3 separate regions of the Homo sapiens genome follow, and all the other regions are linked to region 2. The links are contacts of gene promoters, found by promoter capture Hi-C in human tissues and cell types (Jung and others, 2019). All regions are on one chromosome and are shown on one strand. The core of a region is centred on a gene start or on the middle of the fragment in contact, and the rest is flanking DNA. Distances in the headings are between cores, read along the strand shown.

Region 1 (2,859 bases), core at 130-2,629, 300 kb after region 2:
ATGTTTGATGGGCACCCACACAGGTACCTGATTTTCACCTGGAGAGACACAAGCAAATCCTCTTCCCCACGTAATTATCTTTCCTTTTTCCCAGTTTTTTGTGTGAGTATCTCTCCATCATATATCTTGTCTGGCCTTTTTGTTTTCCTTTTGTCCTGTCAAGTGTTGTTCAGCTGCAGTCATGGATTGATCTTTTTGTAAATTTAGAAAATGTAATATTAATAAAGCTAAGTGTAATTGCATATGCGGTGTTTTATATTCCTGGTCTCCCCCTTTTTGTTTTTGTATTTGAGTTTTTAAAGCATGATTAGCTCTTTCAACTATTGCTTGTCCTTGTGAGTTATATGGAATACCTGTAGTATGGGTAATATTCCACTGTTGAAAAAAATGTAGCCATAGCTTTACTACAGTACCCTGGGCCGTTATCAGTTTTGATTTTTTCTGGGATTCCCATAACTGCAAAGCAAGGTAAAAGATGTCTTTTAACATGAGCTGTAGCTTCTCCTGTTTGACATGTGGCCCAAATAAAATGTGAGTAAGTATCTACTGAAACATGAACAAAGGACAACTTTCCAAAGGCAGGAACATGTGTTACATCCCTCTGCCAGATGGAATTTGGAGATAAACCTCTAGGGTTAACTCCTGTTCCTTGATGTGGCAGGTGTAAGACTTGGCAGGCAGAGCAATGTTGTACAATTTCCTTAGCCTGTTTCCAAGATAAGCCATATCTGTTTCCAAGGCCTGCAGCATTAGGATGGGTTAAAGAATGGAATGTTTGTGTATCAGTAAAAGCTGCAGAAACCAGTGCATCTGCCCTTTGATTGAGTTTGGTTAAAGGGACGGGGAGGTTAGTATGTGCTCTTATATGAGTGATATACAAAGGGGAATGCCTTTGTTGTACTGCTTGTTGTAAAGAATGAAATAAAAGATTGAGTTGATCATCAGTTACATTTTCAATTAAGGCACATTCAATATTTTGCACAGCTTGCATCACATAGGCCGAATCAGAAATAATGTTTACTGGCTGTTTAAAGGTTTTTAGTACTGTAATTACAGCCATAAGTTCAGCCCTTTGAGCAGAAGCAAAGTCAGTTTGAACAACTTGTTGTTGAGGTCCTACAAATGAGGCCTTTCCATTACTAGATCCATCAGTAAAAACAGTATTGGCCCCTTCAATAGGGGTCTTTTGAGTAGTGGAGGGTAATATCCATGATGTCAATTTTAGAAATTGGAATATTTTGGATTTAGGATAATGATTATCAAGTATACCAATAAAACCAGCTAAATTAACTTGCCATTTCTGGGAGTTAACATAAGCTTGCTGAATTTGTTGTTTATTTAAAGGAACTATAATTTGATTTGGATCATATCCCATTAATTTTGTTGTATACAGCCTTGCTTGACCTATCAGTACAGCAATTTGATCTAAGTACAGAGTAAGTGTTCTAGTTGTATTGTGAGGTAGAAAAAGCCACTCAGCTAGATCATCCTGTTGAACAGTAACACCTGTAGTTGAATGTTTAGTAGGAAAAATGAAAAACTGTAATGGCTGTAGTAGATCAATTCAAGTCACTTGTGCCTGATGAATTTTTTCTTCAATTAATTGAAGTTCTTACAATGCTTCTTTGGATAGAGAGCATTTGCTGTTAAGATCAGAATCACCTCATAAGTTAGAAAAGAGGTGAGACATAGCATAAGTAGGAATGCCTAAAGTGGGAATAATTTTTGAAAATCATTTAGAGGTTTTTTTTTTTTTTTTTTTTTTTTTTGAGACAGAGTCTCGCTCTGTCACCCAGGCTGGAGTGCGGTGGTGCAATCTCGGCTCACTGCAAGCTCCGCCTCCTGGGTTCATGCCATTCTCCTGCCTCAGCCTCCCTAGTAGCTGGGACTACAGGTGCCTGCCACCACGCCTGGCTAATTTTTTGTATTTTTAGTAGAGACAGGGTTTCACCGTGTTAGCCAGGATGGTCTCCATCTCCTGACCTTGTGATCCACCCACCTCAGCCTCCCAAAGTGCTGGGATTACAGGCGTGAGCCACCACGCCCGGCCTCATTTAGAGTTTTTAAATTATCTCTTTGAATTTGAACCTTTTGAGGCTTAATAGTACTTTGTTTTACTTTCCTTCCTAAATATTGAAATAGAGTGGAAGTTTGGATTTTATCGGGGGCTGTGATTAATCCTGCAGCAGTTACAGCCTTTTCTGTTTGTAGCATAGTATTCATTCCTCCCTAGTTTCAGCTGCACATAAGATATTATCCATGTAACGGATGATATAACATTTTTTAAACTGTTTTCTAACTGGCATAAAAACTTTAACAACATAAGTTGGACAAATAGTTGGGCTATTTAACATGCCTTGTGGAAATACGTTCCAATAGTATCTATCTGCTGATTCTTTGTTATTTATGACGGGAACAGTAAAAGCAAATTTTTCATAATCTTGGGTCGCTAAAGGAATGGTAAAAAAGCAACCTTTTAAATCTATCACTATGAGAGGCCAGTATTTAGGAATCGTAGTTGGGGAGGGCAGCCCTGGTTGCAGCGCGCCCATGAGTTGAATTACAGCATTAACGGCCCTCAAGTCTGTTAACATTTTCCATTTCCCTGATTTTTTCTTAATGACAAACATAGGAGAATTCCAAGAAGAGAAAGTAGGCTCTATGTGTCCCTTTTGCAATTGTTCTTGCACCAATTCTTTTAAAGCCTCCAGTTTTTCCCGTTTCAGTGGCCATTGCTCCACCCAAACCAGTTTGGCAGTTAGCCAAACAAGAGGAATGGGTGCCAGAGGCTCGACAATGGCCGCTCCTAAAAATGATACCCCGATCCAGTTTGCTCTGTTTAACCTTTTAGTTCTAAAG
Region 2 (2,875 bases), core at 376-2,875:
CAAATTGCATCTTGATATAAACTTCAAGTTTTTTAAAATAAAGATAATATAAATTATTCTCATTATATTATACTCTCTAGAAAATGTAAGTAGTAAATTTGAATTTGATGAGCCAGTCCACTATTTCCTAAACAATGTATTATCTGTGGGCTGTTCATTCACCAGGGACACTTGAAATGGCAAAATCTTTTCCTCTCTGCCAATGGTTCTGTGCACCATAGCCACAAAGAAATGTAAAAGTTACTTGTTGGCTTATTAGTCTCAATAAGTTTTAGTTGATTGAACAAACAAAGTCTCTCACAGCCAGGACTGCTGCGGCTGGAATTCCTGACATACTGTCATACCTCTCACTCGTCAATCTACACTCTCCTCCCATCTACACAGCTCTGGAAATTAAAAACAATCCAACCATGACTATCATGGCTTCAGAGGTCTATGAACTCCCAGGAATTATACGCAGATTTTTTCCTGAGGACAGTCTACACTTCCTTATTGGCTTCTCAAAGAGGGTCACTGACCAGCTTTTAGAGACATGGGCCAAGTCCGGCTACGTTTAGATTCGGTAGTAGTGTCTGTGGTTTTAGTTTGCCACGTCCTTTCCTCTTTTTTTCGTCATAGTGCCCGCTCTTTGGGAGGTAGGGGAGAGTCTTCCCCTGAAGTCTCCACTGCTGCTGGAGAACCTTCCTTTTTCATCTGGTTGCTAAATCCAGAGAATGAAATCTAGGAGATGATTGCACCGTCCCCGCCCCTCAACATGAAGGATGCCCCACTGCCCATCGGGGAGGGGAGCAGGGAGAGCTGGAGAGAGGCTGGGTCGGGGCAGGACCCAGGCGCAGATCCTCCGAGGCCAGCTGCAGCCCTACCTACCTGCCTTCCCGTCTTTCCCCTCCCTTCTTTTCTCCTTCTGTCTTTCCTTCCTTCCATATCTCTTTCCTTGCCTCTTTCCCCCTCCCACTGCTTCCTTTCTTCCTTCCACTGTGGAGGTGGAAAATTTAGCTAGGAGAAGCTGGGACTGGGACGTTCCAGGAACCAGACAGAGAGTGAGTTAAAGGCACAGAGATGAAAACGCGGTATGGGAGAGCTGGTTCTTGAGTCGGCTAAGAGGGGATGAACTCAATGGTTAATAGGATTGGCCATGGCGAATCCCTCAGCAGGGCACGCACCGCACAAAGGGCCGAGGAGCGAGGGTAGCTCGAGGTCAGGATTACAGAGACTCAGGAGCAAGAGAGGAAGGCTTAAAGAGCCAGACTGCGCAGCCAGGACTGGGGTGATGGGCGCTGTCCTGCCAGGCCAAAGAATGAAGATGTAGCCCCGCCCCCAACCTAGGGAGGAGGACCAGCCCGGTTCCTGTCCTGCCCCCGCAACCTCGCCCCGATTCCACTCCGGGAACCTCGGCGATGCTGAGCCAAGACCACTTCTGAATCAGGGATGACTTGTCTAGTGAACCTAGGGTCAGAGCCATCAGTTGGAAAGGCTGGGAGGAGCCTGGAGAAAGAGGGCGACCTTCCTTGGGATCTGTGCGCTCCCTCCTTGCCTCCCCCTCCAGCCTCCCACTTGGTAGCACCTTCCTGATCCCCTTATCTCTAAGGCGCTCAGGGAAATGCCCCGCTGCGGGAGCCTTCTGGGAAATGCTGCCCTGGCCACCCAGGAACCATGAGCCCTGCAGCCCCGGTAAGGAAGAGTTCTCTGGGACAGGAGGAAGGGCCCAGGGCAGGGTGGGCACCCTTGCCACATAGGGGACGGGACAGAAGTCTTTTAGGCCCTGACATCCTCTGGTCTCTGAATGACATCCTGTGGCTGCTGGTAGGTGAGGGTTTGCGGGGCTGAGCTATTGAAGGAAATGATCACAGTCCGAGGTGATAGATACAGAAAGTCTTCCTTTCTCCAGGTGGGCTCCCGCCAGTCCATTCTTCACTGTGCCCTAGAGGGGCCTTTCCGACCCCCTAATCACACACCTCACTCCTCATCTTGAAACTCCCACCCCCAGCTCCAGTCACTGCGTCCTAACATCCAAGCTCTCCGCCTGTCATGCAAGGCCTCTGTGCTATTTCTTTCCAAACCCTGCAGCTCTATCGCCTGACACTCCCGATGCCCTCCCCACCCCTGCGCTTTATGTTCTAGACACACGGAAATGCTGGGCACTCTTCAACATCCTGACAGTATTCATAGGGGAAATTTCGGGTCGCCTAGGAAACTGCCCCTCATCCTCCAAGGCCCCTTTCAGCCTCCTCTGGGAAGCCTTCCTGAACCCCTTGAGAAAAGTCAGGCTCATCTTTTCCATTGTTAAATCACACCTTGTGCTCCAATTGTGTGTTTCCATGTAATCTCCCTCACTAGACTGGAAGCTGGGGATGGAAAGGGGAAGCATCAAAAAAACATGCAAAACTAGGAGCTTGGCTTCTCCTTGCAACTTTACTTTTTCTTTTTTTCTAGGAACTGAGTTCAATGATTCTTAAGAAAAAGTATTTCATGATAAATGAGTGAACAAATGTCTTAATAGAAAAGTAAAATTGCAGGCGGGGCTGCTTCTGCCCAGCTCTACAGGGGTAGACTACAAGTCCCAGTACGCCTCGGGTCAGCATCTCTTCACGTCACTCCCCCTCCCTGGGGTGGGCAGGTCCGGAGGGCGGGGCCCGGGGGCAGCTGGGCTCTCAGGCGCTGCGGGAGGAGAGAAATGCCCCAGGCTCTCCGGGGCACACAAAGCGCAGGCGCAGCGGGTTGGGTGGCAGCAGCATCGAGTAGCGGCCGCTTAGGCAGCAACATCCGCAACAAGTGTAGACAAGGTGGGTGCATCAAGGGGAGGGGCTGGAAAAGGAGTCTGCACCTGACCCTCTTGTCTGATCTGTGTCAAGACCGTGGAGAGGGGAGGGAGCGG
Region 3 (3,073 bases), core at 175-2,674, 350 kb before region 2:
GGAACCCCTTAGGGTATTTGTGCTGCTGGCTCTCCCAAAACCCAGCCCGAAAGAATGAGAGGAGGGACAAGATGTAGAATGCAATGGCATGGCATTTATTGAGCACTACTGAATGTCATCACCGCATATTTCACTGATGAGGACACTGTGACATAACCTGCTTCACACAGCATGGAAGTGGGGGAGCAACATTTAAACCCAGGCCTGCCTAGCTCTGAAGTTGGTCATGTAACCTCTACATCCCATGTCTGTGGGCTACACTAAGCTGTCTCTTCTGGATTGGGCAGTTGGGTTCTGGTTCTGACTCTGCTCTGAGTCACGAAGAAAGAAGGAGCAGTCCCTGCCCCTCACTGTGCCTGGATTTCCATCTCTGTAAACAAACGGTTGACTCGGTCCCTCACCCATCCGCCTTCAGGGACGCTGTTTTCACTCTGGGCACTAGGAGGCGCTGTGTTGTCAGAGGCTCTGCCAAACCTGCCTTTGTAGCCTCAAGTGGAAAGAAGCCTTGGGGAACTGGGTATCACCTCCTTCCCCTATTTTACAGATAACAAGACCTCTGCCAGAAGAACCATGGCTTTGGAAGGCGGAGTTCAGGCTGAGGAGATGGGTGCGGTCCTCAGTGAGCCCCTGGTGTGTGGACCCTTCGCATTGGTTAACTAAGAGTTATCAGGGCCCTTTTCCGCCCCAGACCCTGGGCGAAGATGCAGAGAGACACCAGACCTGGCCCCTGTTCTCAGGCAGGTCTCAGTCTCTGAGAGACATGCAGATCCACCATGACCAGAGTCTCCACACCCCAGTGAGCCCCTGGCAGCCCTGCACAGCATGATTTAGTGCTTCTAACCTCGTGACATCCCTGAGAGGCAGGTGCCGCATTCCCCCTTTTCTCGGGTGAAATGAAATCACCACCTCAAGGTCATATAGCAAATGCATAACAGAGTTGGGATTCAAACCCAAGTCCATCAATCTCCACTAACAGAGAAAGAAACATATGATCAGGGCTTTGAAGGATGAATAGAAGTTCACTAGGAAGGCTGAAGGAAAAAAAAAAATATATATATATATATATATATATAATATATAAACAAAATGAATCAGATTGCTCCCAAGAGTTAGCTTTATTGTATCCCAAGTTTTCTCAAAGTGAGGGCTCTGTGGGGCTTCACGGGGTGGTTAGAGTAGCCGAGTTGACAAAGTTAGTGCCCTCACTGTTCAGACAGGGAGATCAAGGCCCGAGGAGGGGCAGGGCCTGCTGGGTGGTGAGTGAGCATGTCACTGACAGGCTGTGTATTGCTTTCCCAGCCTCCCTGAACATAGGAAACCCACCTGGGCAGCCATGGAATGGGACAATGGCACAGGCCAGGCTCTGGGCTTGCCACCCACCACCTGTGTCTACCGCGAGAACTTCAAGCAACTGCTGCTGCCACCTGTGTATTCGGCGGTGCTGGCGGCTGGCCTGCCGCTGAACATCTGTGTCATTACCCAGATCTGCACGTCCCGCCGGGCCCTGACCCGCACGGCCGTGTACACCCTAAACCTTGCTCTGGCTGACCTGCTATATGCCTGCTCCCTGCCCCTGCTCATCTACAACTATGCCCAAGGTGATCACTGGCCCTTTGGCGACTTCGCCTGCCGCCTGGTCCGCTTCCTCTTCTATGCCAACCTGCACGGCAGCATCCTCTTCCTCACCTGCATCAGCTTCCAGCGCTACCTGGGCATCTGCCACCCGCTGGCCCCCTGGCACAAACGTGGGGGCCGCCGGGCTGCCTGGCTAGTGTGTGTAGCCGTGTGGCTGGCCGTGACAACCCAGTGCCTGCCCACAGCCATCTTCGCTGCCACAGGCATCCAGCGTAACCGCACTGTCTGCTATGACCTCAGCCCGCCTGCCCTGGCCACCCACTATATGCCCTATGGCATGGCTCTCACTGTCATCGGCTTCCTGCTGCCCTTTGCTGCCCTGCTGGCCTGCTACTGTCTCCTGGCCTGCCGCCTGTGCCGCCAGGATGGCCCGGCAGAGCCTGTGGCCCAGGAGCGGCGTGGCAAGGCGGCCCGCATGGCCGTGGTGGTGGCTGCTGCCTTTGCCATCAGCTTCCTGCCTTTTCACATCACCAAGACAGCCTACCTGGCAGTGCGCTCGACGCCGGGCGTCCCCTGCACTGTATTGGAGGCCTTTGCAGCGGCCTACAAAGGCACGCGGCCGTTTGCCAGTGCCAACAGCGTGCTGGACCCCATCCTCTTCTACTTCACCCAGAAGAAGTTCCGCCGGCGACCACATGAGCTCCTACAGAAACTCACAGCCAAATGGCAGAGGCAGGGTCGCTGAGTCCTCCAGGTCCTGGGCAGCCTTCATATTTGCCATTGTGTCCGGGGCACCAGGAGCCCCACCAACCCCAAACCATGCGGAGAATTAGAGTTCAGCTCAGCTGGGCATGGAGTTAAGATCCCTCACAGGACCCAGAAGCTCACCAAAAACTATTTCTTCAGCCCCTTCTCTGGCCCAGACCCTGTGGGCATGGAGATGGACAGACCTGGGCCTGGCTCTTGAGAGGTCCCAGTCAGCCATGGAGAGCTGGGGAAACCACATTAAGGTGCTCACAAAAATACAGTGTGACGTGTACTGTCATCAAGGGGTATGCTCCATGCTTTGAGTCACCAATGAAGCGGGTGAGGGAAGATGAGAGGGGGAGGTGAGAGCTTCTGGGAAGGGGCATTTGAGCTGGGTTTTGAGGGATGATTATGAGCTCTCTGGAGAGGAGTGATATTCCATTTATTTAGAAAGCCTTTACTGACACCTTGTGCTCAGGCCTGTGTTGGTTCTGGGGCCCTAGAAGAACCAGTCCTAGCCCTGGTCCATACGGGCTCCCAACTGCTGGAAGTACAGACTGGCACAGCAACATCAGGGTTGTGACAGAGGGAAGCATGGCTGGGGGGAGGGGGTACACAGACAGTGCCCATGACCCAGTCCAAGGAGTCAGGAAAGAGCTCTCTGAGGAGGGAGCATCTGAGCCAGATGTTGAGGGCTGAGTGGGAACTTGGCAAGCAGAAGTGGGGAGCACTTTAATGCAACCCAGGTATG

What was found. The method cuts DNA at HindIII sites, captures the fragments that hold promoters and counts their contacts. A contact is called where the count stands out against the background at its distance.
Region 1: a fragment that was not itself captured here is called in contact with the fragment with the promoter of PLEKHB1 in region 2 in 1 of the 25 tissues and cell types used here (hippocampus).
Region 3: a fragment that was not itself captured here is called in contact with the fragment with the promoter of PLEKHB1 in region 2 in 1 of the 25 tissues and cell types used here (aorta).

The regions. Positions count from the first base shown.
Region 1 is chr11:73,941,527-73,944,385 of GRCh38, forward strand. No RefSeq gene overlaps it. Among named protein-coding and RNA genes, the nearest start is that of DNAJB13, 8.1 kb to the right of the region's middle. The HindIII fragment of the contact is 7,569 bases long and covers 1-2,859 here.
Region 2 is chr11:73,644,956-73,647,830 of GRCh38, forward strand. PLEKHB1 (pleckstrin homology domain containing B1) reads left to right here and starts at 1,626. Exons shown (of 8, transcript NM_021200.3): 1 at 1,626-1,671. The coding sequence starts at 1,654. RefSeq lists enhancers at 1,191-2,109, 2,745-2,875 and a silencer at 2,485-2,704. The HindIII fragment of the contact is 18,602 bases long and covers 1-2,875 here.
Region 3 is chr11:73,295,186-73,298,258 of GRCh38, forward strand. P2RY6 (pyrimidinergic receptor P2Y6) reads left to right here. Exons shown (of 3, transcript NM_001277204.2): 2 at 545-630; 3 at 1,300-3,073. The coding sequence starts at 1,334. The coding sequence ends at 2,320. Among named protein-coding and RNA genes, the nearest start is that of ARHGEF17, 12 kb to the right of the region's middle. RefSeq lists an enhancer at 172-221. The HindIII fragment of the contact is 6,460 bases long and covers 1-3,073 here.